Regions from separate parts of the Homo sapiens genome. Here region 2 is linked to region 1. Evidence: promoter capture Hi-C in 16 types of primary human blood cells and fetal thymus (Javierre and others, 2016). All regions are on one chromosome and are shown on one strand. The core of a region is centred on a gene start or on the middle of the fragment in contact, and the rest is flanking DNA. Distances in the headings are between cores, read along the strand shown.

Region 1 (4,910 bases), core at 82-2,581:
GGTCCAGGCTGTCCAGTGTCAGGGACCATGGCACTTTCACCTCCCCAGACTGCTCACAGCCTGGCACGTAAAGGTGATCTGTAAATATCCCAACAGATGTAAGTTTGCTCGATCTCCTGTCTCAGACTGCTGTGCCCGCTATCCAACAGTGACCCCTGCAGCACGGGCAGGACCTCCAGCAGCACAGACTGGAGGCTGGCTGCCCAGCAGAGCTGCAACGCCACCACCAAGGAAGAGGTGACTGTGGTTGTGGGTATCATCCCTGTTCCTCTGCTTGCTTGGGGGCAGTCTGAGTCAATGTGCCTGGGGCGCGTGGGGCCAGCCGTGCCTTGGGCTGCGGTCTGGCAGGGGCGGGGGGCGGCTGGAAAGCCTGGGGCCCCTCTCTGGCAAAAATAGCCCACAGTGGTTAGAGCTTCGAGGGTGAGTCAGGCGGGAGCACGGTGGCGCCTAACCCGTTCGCTGCCACTGGGTCTCCCTAAGGCGGTTTGCCTTTGCCTGTGCACCCCAAGACCAGGCTCTTTCCCGGCTGCCCTTGGGCTTGGCTCAATTTTGGATCCCAAGGCCCTCCTCATCCCATAAGAAGCAAGTCTACAGCTTGGAGCAGGAATCCAGGCCACCCAAAGTGCAGACCGGGGGAATCCCGAGAAGGGTAGGATACCTCTGTTGGCAAGCATCCCTGCCAGGCAAGGAAGCATCGGGGCAGGCTGACAATCTTTGGTGCTACTTGAACCTCTGCTAGGGCCAAACTCTGAGGCCAAAGCTGTCCCCTCCAAAGGGGCAGGCGCAGGGCTTGGAGGAGGGTGGGAACCAAGCTGCCCAGACGTGTGCTTCTCCTGCCCGCTCTGAGTACCCCGGGTGCGCTCAGGCTGTGGGTGCCACATGTGACTGTCCCACACCGAGAAGCCCAAAGACTGTCTGGCTCCATCCTCATCTTGTCAAAGGCACCTTCCAGCCACCCTGATCTTGGTGGAGAAACTGACGCAAAGAGGAGTGATGAAAGATGTGGCCATCTGGGCCCCATTCTGGCTCCCTAGGAAGGTTACTACACCCTCCCTGCAGCCTTGGCGACCCCAGATCAGGTGAGAGGAACTCTGGCCACCTCCTTCTTCAGTGGGGCCAAGCCTGAACCCAGGCGTCGGGGGAGAGGGTGTGTGAGAGAGAGAGAGTGTGTGTGTGTGTGTGTGTGTGTGTGTGTGTGTGTGCGCGCGCGCGCGCGCGCGCGCGCGCTGGGAGGAGGGGGAGGCTGCATTCGCCTGGTCAAGGCTGGGAGTGGAGGGTAGGGTGGGGAAGCCCCAGGCTCGGGGAGGGGCTGCAGCTCCGTCAGCCCGGCAGAGCCACCCTGAGCTCGGTGAGAGCAAAGCCAGAGCCCCCAGTCCTTTGCTCGCCGGCTTGCTAGCTCTCTCGATCACTCCCTCCCTTCCTCCCTCCCTTCCTCCCGGCGGCCGCGGCGGCGCTGGGGAAGCGGTGAAGAGGAGTGGCCCGGCCCTGGAAGAATGCGGCTCTGACAAGGGGACAGAACCCAGCGCAGTCTCCCCACGGTTTAAGCAGCACTAGTGAAGCCCAGGCAACCCAACCGTGCCTGTCTCGGACCCCGCACCCAAACCACTGGAGGTAATTAGACCTGGGAAAGCAGGGAGGGCAGGGACGTGCACACGAGGAAGAGACAGGCACGTGTGTAGTCAGACAGACAGACAGACACGCATCCACCCACAGAAGCACAGAGACGCATAGAGAGCCAGAGATATTGCTAGAGATAAAGACACAGAGAATAAAGGAGTGCCCCCAGATTTAGAATGCAATGAATGTGAGAGCCAAGGGGTGAGGACCAGACGGGCGACTATGGAGGAGGGGAGCTTGTAGTTAGGCAAGGTGGGGGATAGGGAAGAGGACTCAGTCTGTGCCACGGTCCCTTTTAGGAGGGAGCCAGGCTCTCCTCCCCATCTTTCCTGCACCTGGAGCCTCTCCTCTTTCCTTGCTGCTCAGGGAGGGGGCAGTGTGAGTGGGGAACTCATTCTTAGACCTTTCTCATGGAGCCTACTTGCCCTTGATGACACCTGGAGGTGACACCCCCTTAGGTGGTGGGGAACCTCCTCCCTATCCCTCTCCCTAGCCCTGTGAGGGCGGGGAAGCTAGTCGTGGGGCCCTGGAAAAGGGAGCAGTAGGCGAGGTTGTGGAGCAAGTGTTTGTGAGTCTGTGTGTCTGAGTTTGCAAGTGAGTGTGTGTCTGTGTGCCGGGCGTTGTGTCTGATTGGGCAAGGTTCCAGGGGTGCTCGCTTGAGTCCTGAGCTGGGACAACGCCTTGACTCTTCTTCTTTAAGACCTCCAAGCCTCAGGGACTCTGGGAATCAAGGGGTGTTTCTTCTTGTTTTGTTTGAGGAGGAATGAGAAGGGTCAGTAGGGTGGCACCGGTGGGTTAGGAGCCCGAAGAAGGGCGTCACTTGGTTCCCCAAGCGAGCCGCCCTATTCCTGAACCCGCATCAAGTCTCCCGTCCCGCAGGTCCTGATCGATCTGCCCACCGGAGCCTCCGGGCTTCGACATGCTGGAGGAGCCCCGGCCGCGGCCTCCGCCCTCGGGCCTCGCGGGTCTCCTGTTCCTGGCGTTGTGCAGTCGGTGAGCAGTTCCCCTTGTCTCCCAGGCCATAGAAACACCGACCCGGGGTGGGGAGAGTTGGAGGGGTCTGGACCGCAGACCCCAGACGCCTTCTTGGTTCCCAGGGCTCTAAGCAATGAGATTCTGGGCCTGAAGTTGCCTGGCGAGCCGCCGCTGACGGCCAACACCGTGTGCTTGACGCTGTCCGGCCTGAGCAAGCGGCAGCTAGGCCTGTGCCTGCGCAACCCCGACGTGACGGCGTCCGCGCTTCAGGGTCTGCACATCGCGGTCCACGAGTGTCAGCACCAGCTGCGCGACCAGCGCTGGAACTGCTCCGCGCTTGAGGGCGGCGGCCGCCTGCCGCACCACAGCGCCATCCTCAAGCGCGGTGAGCCTGGCTGGGCGGGTCGGCGCTGCCGCGGAGGCTAGGGGGTGGGCGGCAGGGCGAGGCGCGCGGAGGCGGGAAGGGATGGTTTCGCGGCTCCGGGAGGGGCCTCTCCTGGAATTCCCCGCCCCCCCCGGAGCCGCTCTGAGCCAGGTCTGGCCACTCGTCTGGGCCCCTGCGCGCCTAACTTCCACCTGCGTGCTGCCAGCGAGGCAGCTGGGTCCCTGCTCTCCTACCCTAGGGCCCCCCTTTCCTGCCTCCGCTCAGCTTAATCTGGGTTGCACCTGTGAACAAGAGATGCCCCCAGTCCTGGAAGCTTCAAACGCCCCCCTATTCCCTCCACCATTTTCTCTCCCCCCATCTTGGCTGGACAAGCCCAGGCTGGTGTCCCCAGTGTCTCAGCGGGGGTGGGGTGACGCCCCCAACCGTTTAAGGGTTAAATCTGCTCCCCTAATTGCTGGGGTTCCCAGGAGCCAAAGCTGGGAACAAAGACCCTGATGACTTTGAAGCTGGGGAGCCAGTCCCCTCCTCTGTGCTGTGGGGGCTCCAGGTGTTGCTCACCTGAGCAGGTGAAGAACGGCTGGAGAGGCAGAGAACAGGTCACTGCTGGCCTGGTCTGGGAGGCATGGCTGCCTCTCCTGGTTTCCCACTGGAGTTCACTCCCTGAGGTGTAAAGACCCATGGGGGCTCAGCCCAGAGATGGGGGCAGTGCTCTGGGGACTATGGGGTTAATAGGCAGCTGCCATCTGCAGGGGAATTCCCAAGACTTGTGCAAACAGCTTCACCCCTGGAGGGTTGGAGTTAGGGGGATCAGAAGGCTGGCCCAGGAGCCCTAGATCCTGGGGTAGCAGAGGCCTGGTCTCTAAGCGGGTGCTGTCTCTCGTCTTCTCAGGGCTCCGGAGAGCCCCTGCCTAAAATGAAGTGAGGGTCCCCCTCCTTCCCCACAGGGCCTGGTGTAGGGGAAGGCTTGGACACCCAAATGGTGAGCATGTTTATTTAAGTCTGGGAAAGGCTTGGCAGCCTGAGCTTCTGTGACCCCCAAAACATAACAAAGAAGCCAACCTTTTAAGAGGGCCTTAGGGAAAATCACTCCCCAACCTCTCTCCTCCTCTCAGTGTTTTATAGGGTAATAGCAGGTTAGGATAAACATAAAAAGGGCAGTCTTGAAGGGCAAATATAAAACTACATCTTGGGAAGCGGAAGGGCAGCTCCATAGCTCCAGTGCTTTGGGGGTGCTAGGATGGTGGTAGGTAGGTTGGTTAAAAGACTGATTAACCCTGAAGTGAATTTAAAAAAAAAAAAACAAAAAAACAGAACCACAAAGGCTCTGCTCCCACCTCACCCACCCAAGCTCCCTGCAGGGTTGGGGGAATTTCTAAGGCTTTCAGATGTAGAACTCGGTTGTACACATCTTCAAAGACCTCAGGGACTCCCTCTTAGTCATCTCCCGACTCCAGGGGTCTCTCCCTGTGGGCTAGCTCTTTCATCTACACCTGAAAATCACAGACTTACAGAATGAGAATGGGCCTCAGAGATCATCTTGACCCATCGTCTCCTGCCTCCCTTTAGAAATGAAGAATCTGAGGCTCTGTGCTTTTTGTACCCTTCCTTGTCCCATGACTTTCCTCCAAATCACTCAGCTGGTGAATGGCAGGGTCAGGATTCAGTTAGGAATTTCTGGAGTTGGAGGGGGGCTGTTTATTTCTTTCTGCCTCCACACTCTCAGCTGCCTGTCAACCTTACCTCCACCATCACACCCTTCTCATCCCCAGGTTTCCGAGAAAGTGCTTTTTCCTTCTCCATGCTGGCTGCTGGGGTCATGCACGCAGTAGCCACGGCCTGCAGCCTGGGCAAGCTGGTGAGCTGTGGCTGTGGCTGGAAGGGCAGTGGTGAGCAGGATCGGCTGAGGGCCAAACTGCTGCAGCTGCAGGCACTG
Region 2 (4,775 bases), core at 423-2,922, 110 kb after region 1:
GAAACCCTGTCTCTACTGAAAATACAAAAATTAGCCAGGCATGGTGACGTGCGCCTGTAGTCTCAGCTACTCGGGAGGCTGAGACAGGAGAATTGCTTGAACCCGGGAGGCAGAGGTTGCAGTGAACTGAGATCAAGCCACTGCACTCCAGCCCGGGTAACAGAGCGAGACTCCATCTCAAAAAAAAAAAAAAAAAAAATTTATGTAGTTCATCTCAACCTTAGATTGTCCTCCAGCTTCTAATCCCAAAATCCTGGGCCCAGTCTGGACTTTAACCAGGTGACACACATTAGTGCGTCAGTTTCAGTGGGCGTTAACATGGAACTGGACCTGTGCCTGATTCATCCAGGAAGCTGAGCCTAGGCCGCAGAACAAACACCCCTAAGCAGCTTCTGCTAGGCATGGGTGAGAGGCTGTCTGGCCAAACAGTGACTGTGTTTGCTTTGTCTTCTTCCTCTCTCCCACCCCCACTTGCCAGAGTCCCTCATTTCTCTCTGCCCATCACTGGGTCAGGTGCTGTGTGTTTTTTTTATGGATGACTCTAGAAAGTTTTCTCTTTCTCTTTCTCTCTCTCTGTCTTTGGTGGTGAAGGTGATTCTTGAAGAAGAGAAGGCTTTAAAAGGGGCACAGGCCGGGCACGGTGGCTGACGCCTATAATCCCAGCACTTTGGGAGGCCAAGGCGGGCGGATCGCCTGAGGTCGGGAGTTCGAGACCAGCCTGACCAACATGGAGAAACCCCGTCTCTACTAAAAATACAACATTAGCTGGGCATGGTGGTGCATGCCTGTAATCCCAGCTACTCGGGAGGCTGAGGCAGGAGAATCGCTTGAATCCGGGAGATGGAGGTTGCAGTGAGCTGAGATCGTGCCATTGCACTCCAGCCTGGGCAACAAGAGCGAAACTCCATCTCAAAATAAATAAATAAATAAATAAATAAATAAATAAATAAATAAATAAATAAATAAAAGAGGTACAGCAGGAGCTGATATTGGGAGGGGAAATAAAGGGAAGTAAGAACTGGTTTGGATGGGAATTAGAAAAAACAAAAAAGTCAGACATCAGGCCAGGCGCTGTGGCTCATGTCTGTAGTCCCAGCACTTTGGGAGGCTGAGACAGGCGGATTGCTTGAGCCCAGAAGTTCAAGACCAGCCTGGATAACATGGTGAGACCCCTGTCTCTATTTAAAACAAAAGATGTAAGGAAAAAAAAGAAAAAAAATGTCAGAGAAGTTCTGGGCCACCTCCCCCATCCCCTACTCCTCCAAAACACACACACACACACACACCTGTCTATAGTCTAAGCAGGTCCTGCTTTTGTAACCCACCCGGGACAGTCCCTGCAACTCCAGCCTGACCTCACTTCCTGCTTCCATAGCTAGTTTGTTTTTCTGACACTTATTGGTAGACACTCCAGATCATTTCATTTTGCTTCCAGTACCCTTTCCACTTCCTAATACAAATGCAAAACAACCTGGGAATCCCCTTTCAGGGGGAAACAACGGTGCAGCTTTAAGAGAAAGAGAAGGGAGGAAGGGGGCGCTGACTCAGATCCTCAGATCCATTGGCTGCTGGAGGGAATCCCACCTCAGGGATTGGGCGTAACAGAGTCCGCCTCCTCTTGTGATTGGCTCAGCCAGAAAAATAAAAGGCGGCTGTGCCGGCCTCCTCCTCAGTTGGAGGGAGGCAGGGAATCTGGCTTGATTGGCGTGCTGAGACGCACCTGGCGCAACCCTCCCTTCTGAATCGAAGTTCAAGTCCCGCGGACACTGCAACCATGAAGGAGAGACGGGCCCCCCAGCCAGTCGTGGCCAGATGTAAGCTCGTTCTGGTCGGGGACGTGCAGTGTGGGAAGACCGCGATGTTGCAAGTGTTAGCGAAGGATTGCTATCCAGAGGTGAGCTGCCCGCCCGCCCGCTGGCCGGCTTTTCTCCCTGCCTGCCCGCCTTGGGGTAGATTTCCACCTGCTCAGGAGACGTGGCTCCCCCAGCCCCAGCCCATCCTCAGCCGCTTTCTGAGGCTTTACCATCCTCAGCTGCTTTTTGGCTGGAGGACTGCCCTGCCTTAGCTTCCCCTGAGACCTGTTCCACTTCTGCCGCCCCGCTGGCTCCTCCTCACCTCTTCACCCAGAGGACCCATCAGATCCCCTCCACCTTCCTGCGTCCCTGGAGTCTGCTCTCAGGTGAGGGCACTGGAGGCATTTGAAAGTCTGGGGTTTCTTCTTGACGTAATCCCTGCCTATCCGCTCACCTGCTCCTCAAAGGCTCTATGCCTGTGCCTTCAGGCAGGCTTCTGCAGCCCCTCTGTTCACCTGGCCGGGAGGGGTTTGAGAGGAGATGAGCTAGGATTGGCTTTGGCCTGTGGCTCTCTCAAATTGGGAAACACAAATCTGGGGATGGGAGGAATCTGTGTGTGTGTGTGTCCCTGATCGCCTAGGATATGGGGGGCTTACCCCTGGTGTGGTGGTGTGGGGGGGTGTCATTCACATTTCTCACTGCTGCAGAGCAAAGTGCCTGGTCCTCCACAGTCCCTTCCCTCCTGCCCCAGGCATCTCCTCTGGTTTCTTGTCTCCTGTGACTTTACTGTCTCTCTGGTGAGTGCGTGTGTAGCCAGCACTAACCAGGGGATCTGAGGGTAGGGGTGCATGGGGTGAATGTTTCCTCTCTTTTCACAGACCTATGTGCCCACCGTGTTCGAAAATTACACAGCCTGTTTGGAGACAGAGGAACAGAGGGTGGAGCTTAGTCTCTGGGATACCTCAGGTAAGAATTCTGCTCCAAATACCCCTTTCCCACCCCTACTGGTCTGCTGTGTAGCTGCTGTCTTTTAGAAATTGTTTTCCCCTTTGGTGGGGAGAAGTGAAAAAAGAGGATCTGAAGACTCATTAGTTGTGGGGAGGGCTGACAGTTGGTGGACTCAGTTGCATGGTCCAAGGGTGCAGAGTGGGTGAACCCCAGGAGCCACTCTCTTCCCTGGGTCTGGTTCCACCCTTTAGAGGGCTGGGATGGTGAGGTGAAGGGACCCATGAATAGTCCTGGGGGTGGGCAGTAAAACAGGACTTCTCCATTTCCATTCCCTACCACCCAACATGCACGCGTACACACATGCACACACACGCGCGCGCGCGCACACACACACACACACACACACACACACACACCTTTTACTTCCCCAGAGCAAAGCCAAATAAGAGGCAAGAGGCAGTGCTGCTGGAGGCAGCGTGGTTGGGGCGGAGAGACAAGTCTGCTTTGGGGAAAGGTTGCTCAGACTCAGTTTTGTCTCCTGCATTCCATCTTGGGCCACTGCTGTCCTCCTGCCGCAGCTCAGCCCCACTCGTCACACCGCTGCAGCTCGGGGATGAAGCAATGCATCATCGATGTTTTGGAAGTTGGGGGAGATGGCTTAATATAGGGCATAGTCAGTTGTGAATAGTGGCCGGCAGGGCAGAGGGGAGGTTGGCTCTGACTGTTTTCCCTCTACTGGGGTGAGGTAGAATATGCCCTGTCTCTCTAGAATGTAGAAACAATGTTTTTCCAGCCTCTCAGCCCCAAGCCCTTAGTGCTAGGCTATCCTTTGCCTTGATTCTGACCCCTTCCCATTATCTCTTTACCCCAGACCTTTTTCAATAGACTGGCTCAGAGTCATAATTAAGGAGTAAAAGCCGGGAATAAGAGAAAGAAAATAAAATCCACCCCTCCCCAAAAATGCATATTCAGGCTGAGTTTAAAAAGGGACCGTAAATCACTAGGTGTTTCCTGCTACATATAATAAATATGCTGTCCTGCTCCTTCAACAGCTGTTGTTCCCATGCTCTAATTCTGAGGTCTGAAAAGATTGGGGCTAGGGAATGGTTAGACAGACAATGAGCCTTTCCTCCCCAAACAAAAATTCCCCAATCTGGTATGCTTTTCCCTGTTGCAGTTTCAGGGCTTGGGAGGCAGCGTTCTGGTTCTCCTGGGCTGTGCTATGCTGGCAAGATTGGGCTAGAATGCAGCTTGATGGCATGATGTATAATTTTTGGTTTTTCATCTGCTGTACCCTCCCACCTTCCAATCTTCCCAGAATCTTACTGCAGCTCATCTCTTTTCACTACCACCGCCCAAACGCCCTCCCCCCACCTCCTCCCTCCTTTGACAGTCAGAATGCAGCCCTCAAATCCCAAACCAGATCATGGAAAATCAGCAAGTGTAGTCTCTGTTCCCTGTGTCACACCCCCACCCCCAATTTCCGAAAGGATAAAGGCTGTCAGTTATTCTCAAACTCCCTCTTTCAGATTAGGTTCCCATAAGGAAGGAGGAAGTGGCCATGGTGTGTGGGATAGGGTTTCCCAATGTTGGGCTCAGGGTTGACCCTGTTCCCATTATTTACTTGCTAGTCTTAGGGGAGGGGGATTGCTTGGAGCCAAAATGGAGGCCTCCTCCCCTCCCCCTTCCCCAGTGCTGCAGTGCTTCCGCTCCTCAGTGCTGCAGTGGTAAGACCCCACCTCAGAAAGGGATGGAGGAGGCTTGCTGAAGGAGCAGGCAGCTATCCCAACTCCCCTGTATTCCTTTTTTTAATGACCAACATCCCCCCACCAGCTTGGATTCCCCCCAGTTTCCATGGCGATTGTGGTGCAGGGAGAGGGGCTGCTTGCTATTCTGAGCACGGATTGTCTGGGTTCCAAATCCGCTACTGCTCCTTCCCCAGGGTGGAGGGGGCAGGCTCAGCTCCTAGCATTCTCCCATATGGGACCACCTGGGTCTGCATTGCCTATTTCCCTTCCAACGAAGGACTCTTGC

The links. Contacts are between HindIII fragments. The CHiCAGO score rates a contact against its expected background, and 5 or more counts as called.
Region 2: the fragment with the promoter of RND1 here is called in contact with the fragment with the promoter of WNT10B in region 1 in 8 of 17 cell types (activated CD4 T cells, M0 macrophages, erythroblasts and 5 more); the score reaches 8.5 in activated CD4 T cells.

What each region holds. Positions count from the first base shown.
Region 1 is chr12:48,968,156-48,973,065 of GRCh38, reverse strand. It overlaps WNT10B (Wnt family member 10B), which reads left to right and starts at 1,331. Exons shown (of 5, transcript NM_003394.4): 1 at 1,331-1,611; 2 at 2,497-2,610; 3 at 2,715-2,977; 4 at 4,747-4,910. The coding sequence starts at 2,537. RefSeq lists silencers at 1,266-1,560, 3,028-3,107 and an enhancer at 4,573-4,910. The HindIII fragment of the contact is 10,147 bases long and covers 1-3,292 here.
Region 2 is chr12:48,862,767-48,867,541 of GRCh38, reverse strand. It overlaps RND1 (Rho family GTPase 1), which reads left to right and starts at 1,672. Exons shown (of 5, transcript NM_014470.4): 1 at 1,672-1,894; 2 at 2,672-2,759. The coding sequence starts at 1,775. RefSeq lists enhancers at 1,349-1,478, 1,739-1,858. The HindIII fragment of the contact is 16,374 bases long and covers 1-4,775 here.